2 separate regions of the Homo sapiens genome follow, and region 1 is linked to region 2. The links are contacts of gene promoters, found by promoter capture Hi-C in blood cells and fetal thymus (Javierre and others, 2016). All regions are on one chromosome and are shown on one strand. Each heading gives the region's core, a stretch centred on a gene start or on the middle of the fragment in contact. The rest is flanking DNA. Distances are from core to core; before and after follow the strand shown.

What was found. The method cuts DNA at HindIII sites, captures the fragments that hold promoters and counts their contacts. A CHiCAGO score of 5 or more calls a contact.
Region 1: a contact is called between a fragment that was not itself captured here and the fragment with the promoter of KCNQ1-AS1 in region 2, in 2 of 17 cell types (M2 macrophages and megakaryocytes). The highest score is 5.7, in M2 macrophages.

The regions. Positions count from the first base shown.
Region 1 is chr11:2,641,410-2,647,850 of GRCh38, reverse strand. The region is part of intron 10 of KCNQ1 (potassium voltage-gated channel subfamily Q member 1); the gene reads right to left. KCNQ1OT1 (KCNQ1 opposite strand/antisense transcript 1) reads left to right here. Exons shown (of 1, transcript NR_002728.4): 1 at 1-6,441. Among named protein-coding and RNA genes, the nearest start is that of KCNQ1OT1, 55 kb to the left of the region's middle. The HindIII fragment of the contact is 2,741 bases long and covers 3,485-6,225 here.
Region 2 is chr11:2,859,615-2,866,215 of GRCh38, reverse strand. It overlaps KCNQ1-AS1 (KCNQ1 antisense RNA 1), which reads left to right and starts at 4,647. Exons shown (of 3, transcript NR_130721.1): 1 at 4,647-5,226. RefSeq lists an enhancer at 2,560-3,257. The HindIII fragment of the contact is 10,846 bases long and covers 1-6,601 here.

The DNA of each region.
Region 1 (6,441 bases), core at 3,606-6,105, 220 kb after region 2:
ATGAAAAAGGAGACTTACAATGGACACCACAGAAATACAAAAGATTATTAGAGACCATTATGAACAACTATATGTCAACAATTAGAAAACCTAGAGGAAAGAGATAAATTCCTGGACATATATAACCTCCCAAGATTGAACCAGGAAGAAAAAAAATCTGAACAGAGCAATAACAAGGAATGAGATTGTATCAGTAATAAAGTCTCCCAGTAAAGAAAACCTCAGGATTGCACGGGTTTTCTACTGAATTCTACCAAACCTTTAAAGAACTAACATGAATTCTTCTCAGACAATTCCAAAAGACTGAAGAGAAAGGAATTCTCCCTAACTCATTCTGTGAGGCAAGCAGTATCTTGATACCAAAACCAGATAAGGACACAATAACAGCAAAAAAGAAAACTACAGGCCAATCTCCCTGATGAACATAGATGCAGAATCCTCAGAAACAAAACACACACACAGACACACAAACTAGCAATCTGAATCCAATCGCACATCAAAAAGATAATACACCATAATCAAGTGGGATTTATCCCAGGGATTCAAGGATGGTTCAACATATACAAATCAATAAATGTGATACATCACATTAACAGAAGGAAGGACAAAAAAATACATGATCATCTCAATAGATGCAGAAAAAGCATCTGATAAAATTCAAAATCTCTTCATGATAAAAAAAAAAGCTCATCACATAATGTCTAGAAGGAACATAACTCAATGAAGGTCATATATGACAAACCCACAGCCACCTGGGGAAAAGCTAAACACCTTCTCTCTTAGAACTAGAACAAGACAAGGATGCCCACTTTCACTATTCTTATTCAGCAGAGTAAGAAAAGTCCTCACCAGAACAATTAGGCAAGTAAAAGAAAAAGGGTATCCAAATTGGAAAAGAGAATGTCATATTGTCCTTTGCAGATGGCATAATCTTATACATAGAAAAACCTAAAGATTCCACCAAAATCTTTTAGAACTGGTAAAGGAATTCAATAAAGTTGCAGGATAAAAAAATCAACAAACAAAAATTAGTAGGTGTGGACATGATGGCTCATGCTTGTAATTTCAGCACTTTGAAAGGATGAGGCGGGTGGATTGCTTGAGCCCAGGAGTTTGAGACTGTCCTGGGCAACATGGCAAAACCTCATCAGTACAAAAATGAGCTGGGCGTGGTGGCCTGCACCTGAAGTTCAGCTACTCAGGAGGCTGAGATGGGAGGATCACTTGAACCTCGGAGGTGAAGGTTGCAGTGAGCAGAAATTGCACCATTGCACCCCAGCCTGGGCAACAGAGTGAGACCCTGTCTGCACTCCCCTGCCTCCCCCAAAAAATCAGTAGCATTTCTGTGAAACAGCAAATTAGCCAAAAGAGAAATGAAGAAAGCAATCCCATTTGCAATAGCTACAAAAAAAAGCAAAGCTTAACCAAGGAGGTGAAAGATTTCCACAATGAAAACTATAAAATACTGATAACAGTAATTGAAGAGGCTACAAAATTTTTTGAGACATCCCATGCTCATGGATTGAAAGAAAAATGTTAAAATGATCATATTTACCTATAGCAATATACAGATGCTATGAAATCCCTATCCAGATATCAGCAGGGGCTTCAAGATGGCTGACTAGAGGCATCTGGCACTCACCTCCTCCACAAAATATAGCAAGTAGGTAACCACAGTTTATATAGATCGCCTCTGAGAGAATGCTGGAATTCAACTGAGAAGTAATAAGAAAAACCCAATGCAAGGGATAAGAGGGGAGTCAGGCAGTCTGCTTCTATGGGACTGGCTGGGATCATGAAGAGACTCCTCGATGTGCAGAAAGGTAAGTAAGTGAGCCCCTAGTGGTCCACATTCCCACAGCAGACTCCTGAAATCCTAGTCAGAGAACCCCCTGACCCATAGATGCCTTGAGACTAACAAGAGGCTACCTACAGACTGTGAAATGGCAATGAACAGCTCCCAGAGAGGGAGATCACCCTGAATCCTCAGGCAATTCACACATCCCCTGAATCCTCAGGCAACTTCAGGAAAGTCCCATTTTGATAGCCCAACCCCCACCAGACTGCATCTGCTGTGGGCCCCACATCCCTCTATCTCATCCCTGGAGCCCCATGGACATCCCTTACACAAAGCTGGTTGCCACTCCTGACTGCTCCCTCCAGGCCAAAGCATGAGCCATTGGCAATACTCTGCTACCTCCGAAGCAAGGCTGCCATGAGGAAAGGTGACCCTGCCCATAGTCACCACCTGGGGCCGAAGCATGCATTGCCCAACTGCCTGTTTATAGCTGCTGCCACTGAAAGCAATCCCACTCAACTTCCCCAGGAGTAGGGCTGCAATAGAGTTGCTGCTGCCCCAACATGAGCATTCAGCAGGGTATACAGGGATCTTCCTGTGCCTGCCTACCACAGTCAGTACATTCTTGCATTACTGGAGGGCCTCAGGACAGGCCCACCTGGCCTGGTCCCACCCTCTTTTCTCCCAGTGCCAGCGCATACCATCTCTGGGCCTAGGGATCACCCTGCCCTATCCAGTATTGTTGGCACCTGAGCACTCCTGGGGGCTTGAGGACTGCCCTACCCAACTGACCATTACCACCACAACTGGCATTCACTTGAATTTGCCACCTGTGGGCCTTGGGACAAGCTCATCCAGCTTATCCCAGCCATCCCAATACCAGCATGGACACCTTGGGAGGCAGAAGATTGTTCTGCCACTGCTACTGCCATTGCCCAAGCCATATCTGCTGCTCAGAGCTCAAGGACCTACCCACCCTGTGGCCCAGCTCTGTCATCATTGGCACCTGAGCAAGTTGCCTGGAGGCCCAAAATTGGTTTCCCTGGACTTGCTAACACTGGTACCAGCATACACTACCATTGGGCCCAAGGATAAGCATTCGGGGCCAGCCACTGCTGCCACTGGGGCCTGAGGACTGGCCCAGCTGGTGTCCCTATCCCCAGCCAGACTTTACCACAGCCTCCACCAACAACTGCATCCTAAACTACAGAGGAACTCCCAGACACTACTGGTGCTGTTTACAGCTGAAAAAAATTCCATGGAGATCACACTACTGCAGGCACCCAGAATCAAAACCAAAGTGCCCTGCCCAAAGAACACCATAGATATATCTTCAGGAACAAGACTCTCTTAGGAAAGACAGATCAAAAAATTGGAAGAAACTACTGTTACACCAGATGTGCAGATACCAGTGTAAGCACACAAGAAACATGAAAAGGCAAAACATGACAACTCCTAAGGAATGCAATAATTCTCCAACAGATTCCAGTGAAAAAGAAATTGATGAAACCTTGAAAAATTCAATATAATATTAAAGAAGATCTGATAGACTATACAAAGAAATCAGAAAAAACAATTCGGGGTATGAATGAGAAATTTGCCCAAGAGATAGATATAAAAAGAACCAAACAGATATTCTGGAATTGAATAATAGATTGAATGAAATAAAAAACATATTTGAAAGCTTCAATAACAGACCACAACAAGCAGAAGAAAGAATTTCACACCTTGAAGATAAGTCTTTTGAAATGACTCAGACAAAAATATAGAAAAAATAGAAAAGAATGAACAAAGGCTATGTGACTATAGGATGCCATAAGGTGACACCTTCAGTGTCCCAGAAGGTGAAGAGCAAACCAAAAGATTATAAAACCTATTTAATGAAATAATACCTGAACACTTCCCAATCTCCCAAGAGATTTAGATCCAAATATAGGAATCTCAGAACCCTAAATAGATACAATTCAGAAAGGTCTTTTCCACAGCACATTATAGCAAATTGCCCATCCCAAGACAAAGAGAGAATCATAAAACCAGCGATAAAAGAGGTTGTAGACACTTACAAGGGAACAACCTGCAGACTAACAGATTTTTCAGCAGAAACTTTACAGGCCAGGAGGATGGGATTATATACGCAGAGTGCTGAAAGAAAAAACAAAACCAAAAACCTGCCAGCCAGGAATACTGTACTTAGCAAAGTTATATTCGTCAGAAATGAAGGAGAAATAAAGTATTTCCCTTAAAAGTAAAAGCTCAGGGAATTAATTGCCACTACACTGGCACTACAAAAAATGCTTAAGGGAGTCTTACAGGAAGAAGTGAAAGGACAACTTCATGAAAGCACACAAAATAATCAGAAATCAATTAATGACAGGAATAAGCCCTCACATATCAACAATAACCTTGCATATAAATAGATTAAACTTTCTACTTAAAAGACAGACTGGCTGAATGGACTTAAAAACATGACCCATCTAAATGCTATCTACAAGAAACGCATCTCACCTGTAAAGACACATAGTTGAAAGAAAGGAATGGGAAAAGATATTACATGCAAAAGGAAACAAAAACCAAACAGGAGTAGCTATACTTTCATCAGATAAAACAAAGGTTAAGCTAAAAACACTAAAAAGAGACGAAGTCATTATATAGTGACAGAGGGATCAATTGACCAAGAGGATATAACAATTCTAAACATATATGCACCCAACACCAAAGCACCCAGATATATAAGGCAAACATCAAATCTGAAGGGAAAGGTAGACTTCAACACAATAATCTTGGGAACTTCAATTCTCCATTTCCAGTATTAGACAGATCATCTAGACAAAAAATTAACAAAGAAACATTGGATTTAAACTGCACTTTATACCAAATGGACCTAACAGACATTTACAGACCAGTTCATAAAACAGCTGCAGAATATACACTCTTCTCATCAGTACATGGAACACTCTCCAGGATACATTATATGTTAGGACACTAAGTATGATTTTAAATATATATATATTTTAAATTGGATTCATATCACATATCTTCTCAGACCACAATAGCATAAAACTATAAATAAATAAGAGGAGCATTCAAAACTGTATAAATAAATGGAAATTAACATGTTCCTGAATGACCAATGGGTCAAAGAAGAAATTAAGGCAGAAATAAAAAATTTACTGAAACAAGTGAAAATAGAAGCACAACATTCTGAAACTTAAGGGATACTGCAAAAGCAATGCTAAGAGGAAAGTTTATTGTAATAAATGCCTCCATTAAAAAAGGTAGAAAAGATCTTAAATAATCTAATGATACACCTGAAGGAACCAGAAAAGCAAGAACAAACCATACTAAACATAAAATTAGTAGAAGGAAAGAAATAACGAAGATCAGAGCAGAACTAAACAAGAAACTAAATAAATATAAAGGATCAATGAAATGCAAAATCGGTTTTTGAAAAGAAACAAAATAACCAGTGGCTAAACTATCCAAGAAGAAAAGAGAGAAGACCTACATGAATAAAATCAAAAATGAAAAAGGGGATATTACAACTCATACCATGAAATACAAAAATCAAAACTCTTCAGTCTGATCAATAAATTGATTACAGTTACAGGATTTAAAAATCAGGCTTATTTCTATATACCAATAAAGAACCAGCTGAGAAAGAAATCAAGAAGGCATTATCTTTTACAACCACTACAAAAAATCTAGGAATGAGTTTAACCAAAGAGGTGAGAAACCTCTAACAAGGAAAACTACAAAAGTCTGATGAAAGAAATTGAAAAGAACACACAAAAAACATCCCATTCTCATGGATTGGGAGAATTAACAAAATTAAAATGACCATACTACCCAAAGCAATCTACAGATTCAATGCAGTCTCTCTCAAAATACCAATGCCATTTTTCATGGAAATAGAAAAAATCCTAAAATTCAGATGGAACCAAAAAAGAGCTGGAATAGCCACAGCAATTCTGAGCAAAAATAACAAAGTTGGATGCATCACACTGCCTGATTTAAAAATATAAGGCTATAGCATTAAAAGCAGCATGGTATTGGAATAAAAACTGATAGACCAATGGAACAGAGTAGAACCTGGAAGTAAATCCATGTATTTACAGCCAACTGATTTTTGACAAAGATGCCAAGAACATACACTGGGAAAAGAGCACCCTCTTCACTTAATGGAGCTGGGAAAATAAGATATCCATGTGAAAAATGAAACCGTTTCTATCTCTTGCTATACTAAAATCAACTCAAGATGGGTTAAAGACTTAAACATGAGGCATGAAACTATAACATCACTATTAATGAAGGAGACATTGGGGAAACACTTTAGGACATTGGTCTAGGGAAAGATTTTATGGATAAGACCTCAAAAACACAGACAAAAACAAAAATAGACAAATGGGACTATATTAAATGATAAAGCTTGTACACAACAAGGGAAACAATCACCAGAGTGAAGAGACAGCCTGTTGAATGGGAGAAAATATTTGCAAACTACTCATCTGACAAGGTACTAATACCAGAATATACTAGGAACTCCAATAACTCAATAGTAAACAACAAATTAATTCCAATAAAAAGTGAGCAAAAGACATGGATAGATATTTCTCAAAAGAAAACATACAAGTAGCCAACAGGTA
Region 2 (6,601 bases), core at 3,398-5,897:
TATACTTTGGAATTTTGCTGGAACTGAGAGCAGGCCCGAGTGGAATTTGGCACTGAGTGGGTCTGGCCTGGCTTCCATCCAAGGGGGTTTAGTTACTGAGGTGCCCCCAGGACTCCATTCTGAGGCAGCCCCTCTCGTAAGATGGTCCTGACAGTGGACTCTGGCATGGGCTGTGGCTGGGGTCCCTCATCGGCTGGGGCCAGTTCCAGGCATTATTGCTACAGCACCCAGGTCACAGGGCTGGCAAGCCAGTGGGGCTTTTTATTTCTTTTGATTTCCAAATTGAAAATAGCCATATATTTCCCTTGGTTGTAGAAATAGCAGCATATGCTCATTGTAAAAAAAAAAAATGCAAACAATATGGGAATGTATAAAAAAGACAGTAAAAATTCCCCCAGATAGATGCTGCTATCCTGAGATAAGCGCAGATGGCACTTTGGGGCTCTATATCATTTTACATCTATGGGACTCACATTTACTTTTTAAGTCCAAAGCACATATTTTATTTTAATTAAAAAATATTTTTTGAGATAGGATCTTATTCTGTCACCCAGGTTGGAGTGCAGTGGCACGATCATGGCTCACTGCAGCTTCCAACGCCTGGGCTCAAGCCCTCCACCCACCTCAGCCTCCCGAGTGGCTGAGACCATAGGTGTGTGCCACCATGCCCAGCTAATCTTTAATTTTTTTTTTTTTTTGTAGAGACAGGGTCTCCCTATGTTGTCCAGGCTGGTCTCCAATTCTTGGGCTCAAGTGATCCTCCTGCCTCGGCCTCTCAAAGTGCTGGGATTATAGGCATCTGGCATAAAGGTATATTTTTAATAGAGACAGGGTCTTGCTATGTTGTCCAATCTGGACTGGAACTCCTGGGCTCAAGAGATTCTCTCACCTCTGCCTCTGGAGTAGCTGGGACTACAGGTGTGCACCATTGTGCCCAGCTCAAAGTACCTATTTTAAAGTATTAGAATGTCTATCTATTTGTATACACACACACAAACATATACTGTTTTAATTGAAAGTATTTAACCATAACAAACTGTTCAAGAGACCCGTAATCTGAGTGTGATAAACAAAGTAACAGTTTGGCAGAGAGTTGAGTACAAGCAGCTGGTGACAGTGCTAGGGCGGGAGAAGGCGGCTGGCGTCTTTTAAATGTGTTAGGGAAAGGCCCCAGGTTACAGGATTGGGAATGCGCTGTTGTTGAGAAGTGGCCGAGGGAGTACGAGGACAGTTCAAATGCTCTGGGTCTACCCTCGAGTGTGGGGTGAACATGGCGATTGCAGCAGTGGGTCCACACGGCACCTCAGGGCCCAGGGAGGGTTTGGAGGCGGAGGGCAGCTGGGCTGCACTGTCTTCCCCAGAGGAAGATGGAGGCCTCTGGTTAATGAAGCAACCACAAGGGGTTAGGACCAAGAGATGTTTGTCTCAAATGGGTGTAACCATCCCATTTGAACTGTTTCCTGGAAAGAAATGAAAGGGGGATTCTGACGGGGCACCTGTTATTTTATTGATAGGAAATGGTTTCCATCCCGTGACCATGGAAATTTCCACGGTGCGTCCTGGCCGTGCATATTCTATGAGCCAGCTTCCCCCAGCCCACGGCATGTCACTGTGCTGGCACCCATGAGACAGTGCCCTGCAGGATGGGTGACAAGGGTGGCTGAGCCCTCCGGCCTCGGCCTCGGTGTCTACTGGAACCCCCCATTAGGTCCCCCAGGTGGGCCTTGAGTACCAGCAGGGGTGTGGGCCAGGCCCTGAGCTTCACCCTGAGGGGAAGGTGGATGGGACTCCTTTCAAGAGCCAGGTGAGGGAGGTGTGGCACAGGGCAAAGGTTGAGGCTCCTGGGTGTCCAGGGAAGAGCAGCCCCTGAGGGGCCTGAGGACACTCAGAGGAGGAATGGGTGGAGGAGAGCTGGCAGCCAGGGTGCCCGTGCAAGGGCGCAGCAGGGCAGGCTCAGTGATGTGGAGCTGGAGGGTGGGCATTGAGGCGGAGGTGGGGGGTGGGGGGTGCGGCTGTGAAGGTCACGCCAGGGCCAGGGTGCCAGAGTCAGACTGGTGGCAGTTGGGCCAGATTCACTCTGTCAGCTGACTTCAGTCCCAGCTGAGCCCAAGGCTGAGGGATCCGCCTGCACTTTCAGTCCTCTGGCTGAGCAAATTACGAAAGTATCACAGAATGTTTCAGGAACAGATGATTTTCTTTCTCTTTCTTTCTTTCTTTCTTTCTTTCTTTCTTTCTTTCTTTCTTTCTTTCTCTTTCTTTTTTCTTTCTTTATCTCTTCTTTTTCTTTCTTTCTCTTCCTTTCTTTTTCTTCTTTCTTTCCTTTCTTCCTCCCTCCTCCCTCCTCCTCCTCCTCCTCCTCCTTCTTCTCTCTTTCTTTCTCTTTCTCTTTTTTTTCTTTCTTTTTTGAGATAGGGTCTTACTCTGTCACCTGGGCTGGAGTATAGTGGCACAGTCATGGCTCTATGTAGCCTCCACCTCCCAGGCTCAAGTGATCCTTCCTGGGACTACAGGCGCGCCGCTACGCCTGGCTAAAAAAATCAGAAGATTTTTTGTAGAGATGCGACCTCGCCAGGTTGTGCAGGCTGGACTGGAACTCCTGCGCTCAAGCAGTCCTCCCGCCTCGGCCTCCCAGAGTGTTGGGATTACGGGCGTGAGCCACCGCGCCCGGCACCCTTTTCTTTTTAAAGGTCTGTGGCTGAGTTTTGTATTGGGAGTATTCTTACTTACCCAGAACGTGGCTCTGTCTCTGTTTCATCGCTGGTGGTGGAGCAAGTGAATCACCCACCAATGTATAGGTTTTCTAAGTTTGTGGTTGAAATTTTGCTAGTAAAGTGGACACATCACAAAGAAACTGCCTCCCTCCCTCACTCTGCCCAGCCTGCCCCAGCCCTAGGCTTCGAGGCAGGCCTGGGCTCCCGGAGGATGCTCCCTGGCGCTGTGGGGCCAGAGGCCTGGGCCAGGCTCCTGCTGGGGCTGGAGATGGGCGGGGTGGCGGAGGCCGGCCCTGGCCTGCCTCATTTCTGCGCTCCGACCAGCCTGGGAATCTGTTTCTGTCATGAAAGGCGAGGGTGACCTGGCGGGCTTCTGCTCCTGGTTGGTCAGAAAGTCCGGGGATCCTTGGCTCCGGTTAAAGGGGCCCCCACGTCTGCCGTCTTGCCCGGCCGCCTCCAAGTGCCGCCGGCCCAGGGCTGAGGAAGGCGGGCCGCGGGGAGAAGGCGCGAGGGCCGGGCCGGGCAGGGGGTCCCGGAGCCAACCCCACCGCCCGGGCCGCCCCGGGCCCGCGCCCGCCGCCCCCACCGCGCCGCGCGTCTGTTTGGAGAAGAAAGCGGGCCAATTTGTTTTCATTCAGAATCACTTAAGATCCCATTTTGGAGAAATGAAAAGAGAGAAGCGCGCTTCCCGGGCCCGGGCCGCTGGGTGCCCGCCCGTGCCCGGCGGCGCGTCGAGTGGAGGGACAGCGGCCCCCTCCCTGCCCTCGGCCCCAGCACGCCCGGCCGCGGCTCCCGGAGGTCCGAGGAAGGCGGCGAGGCCGCGCTCATCTGCATGAAGCGCACACTCGCGGCCCATCTGCAAAGGCGCAATTAAACGCGGGGGTGGGGGGGCAGGGGCGCCCGAAATTAGCATTTCCGCGGCCATCTGGCGCGAGGAGCGGGCGCGGCCGGACAAAGGGCGCCGGGCGAGGGGAGAGGCGAGTGTGCCGCGGCATTGACCTGCAAATGAGGCTTTGTGCGCGCATTAAAGCTCGCCGGACCCCCGACCCCGGCCCCCGCCCCGCCCGCCAGGCCCGCGGCCCCTAGCGGCCCAGGCTCGGACTGGGCACCCCGAAGGTCTGGGGGTCGGGCCGGGCAGTGCCGCGACTGGGCAGGGGGCCGGGCCGGGCCGGGCCTGGCCGGGCCAGGACAGGCTGTGGAGCGTCGGAGCCCCCCACCCAGGCTGGGTTCCTCTGCAGCCTCCAGGAGAGCCCCTGGGACCCTGGCCCCTTGAACCCTACCCCTGCCCCCATCCGGTCCTCGCCCCTCTGGGCCGGTATTCCCCAGCCTACTCCTGGAAAGGATTTCTCAGGACGCAGGGGTCCTGGCTAGAATCCCTCGGGGTGGGTAAGTGGAGGGGGCGTGGACAGGTGGGGGCTGCGTGGTGGGGGCAATTTTGTATTGGGAGCTACTAAAAACTGGCCACCTGGACAGGTTTTTGTTTTTGCCATGGTCATTAATGCCCTCAATGTTTGAAAAAGGCCATTTCACAGTGTTTTATGGGCCTTAAAAATCAGGGACTCTTTGAAAATGGTTGTGGGGCAGCTTAGTGACAGCCAGATGATTAGCAAGAGCTCAGTATCAGGTCTTTAGGGGACCAAGTGTGTGGGGTGGTGGTACAGGAAATCTGGGACTCCCCAGCTGGTACAACTGAGGCTGCAGCCAGGGCCAATGGGCCGGGGAGCAGGAGGCCGGGACTGGGAGCCCTGGGGCCAGCTGGGCTCTGCCAGATACCTGGGTCACTTGGAGGCCCCTGGAAGGCCCCCTGGACTTTCTGCCACATTGCTCAGGCTCTGGGTGCCTACAAACTGCCCCCCATGCCGTTGGGCTGCTCATTAGGGGTTGTGGCCCAAATTAAACTGCAGTAGCCACCCCCAGAACCTCCAAAGGCCTGGGGGGCAATGAGGGGCACAGAGGACAGTGTGTGGCTATCTCTGGGTCTCTGTTCTCCCAGGTGGACCAGTGGGGGTTGTGGCGATGCTGTCCAGGGTGAGGTCCAGCTACGGTTGCCGTCCTGTCTGTCAGCACCAGCACCCAGCACATCTGTAGGGCCTGGGCCCCGGACCCAGCCTGAGGGTTATGAGGAGGTTTCCTGAAGGAGAAAAGCCAGAGTGGAGTCTGGAATGGAGCAGGGGGGACCATGGCCTGCCCTCAGTCTGCTAGGTGGGGCTGGAACCTGGGGTTTTGCTTGGGTGTGAAGAAGGAAGAGGCTGGGGATGCAGCTAGGTGCTGGTTCCTCATAGACCGAGTCATGATTTATGGGGACCCTCAATTATATCCCCTTAGCAGGGGCCACAAAGTCTCAAATCTGCCCAGAAATCCACACCTCGGAGCTCAGGTGAGGTCTTCTTCAGGTTCTCCCTCTGCAGTGCAGATACTGTCAGAAAGAGCAAGCTACAAATGGAGAAGTCAACAACACTCTAGTGAGAATTACCCTGCCAATTAATTTTCTCAGAAATCGGGGACTCAGGGACCGGTGTGTAAACACGAGTCCCTTAATGGGGGGTTCAGACAGGGTGGGTGTGGGCACACAGGGGTCCGTGCTAAAGCCTGGCACTGGATCCCAGGTGTGGGGACTCCAGCTCCTCCCAAGGGGCAGGGGATCTCCCGTCTGTGATGTGGCTGAATGACTCACCGCCTCATCTGTGGGCCAACATGTGTGGTGGGGCAAAGGTCTCTGGCCTGGTAGCCGTGTGAGCTGGAGGGGGGGCACTTCTCCATCCAGGCCTTACAGTTTCCCTTAGGTAAATGGGGCAGAGTAACCCCCTCCTTCCCCTACCACAAGGGTTCTGGGAGGTGTGGAGCCTGGGGTGTGGTGGTGCTTGGCACTCCGTGTTCTTTGGAAGCTGGAATGAGGTTCCTCAGGCCAGTTATGGGTGTGAGATGTCTGGAAAAACGAAGTAGACTGGACGGTGGCCTCATCTATCTGTGCTGGGCTGGGCACCAGCACCTCGCTCTCCCAACCTCTTGGGGTGCGCCCATAGAGGAGATGGAAGCACAGAGGATTTCAGAAACTCCCCACCTTCAGTGTTGCCTTCAAAAGTATACTGCTGTGGCATGTGGGCAAGGAGGGTTCTGGGGATGGGTGGGCTGTGGGGGGAGTAGGCGCATGGGTGGGGTGGGCCCAGGGGAGCAGGCATGAACCCAGGGAGAGGGTGCATAGATGGGGTGGAACCCTAGGGCTTCTGAGGGACTGCAGTGCGGCTGGTCTGTGTGGACAGGCGCTGGAGGGGGCACTGTGCAGAGAGCAGGATGTGGGTGAGCCCCTCTTTCCCCTCTGTCCTTCCCATCCTCCAGGACAGGGAAGCAGCCCTCAGCAGACAGTGTGAACCCCATGCCCAGTGTGAGCATGAGCACAGCTCCCTGCGCTTTGTCTTCAGGAGGTCTCAGATCCAGCCTGCATTGGCTTCCAGCAGACCCCTATTTCCTAATCCTCAAGGGTTGTTCTTGTCAGGCATCCCATTTGCAATGCCCTCGAGGGCCGCTGCCCGTCTGGCAGGGAGATCAGCTTCAAGGACACAGACAGTGTCTGCGGTGGGTGCTGAGTGCCGTAGGGGAGACCCTGGGCTGCTTTTGGAAGAGGAGCATCATGGAAGAGGAGCCCTTTCGCTCTGGGCTTTGGAGGATGAGTAGGAGTTTGCTAAACCCAGATGGGGAGGAGGGCCAGTTTGGCAGGTGGCGTTTGGGAGGACCTGGGGCAGCTGCCACAGCATGCGCCGGGCCTGAAGATGCCTCCTGCGCCTGGGTTTCCAGCTCTTGCTTCCTGAGCCGAGTTGGAGCTGATATCCATGCCTCCCAGCCACGGGATGCTCTTTTCAGTGTGACCAACCAGGCAGAAGAGCTGAGTGACA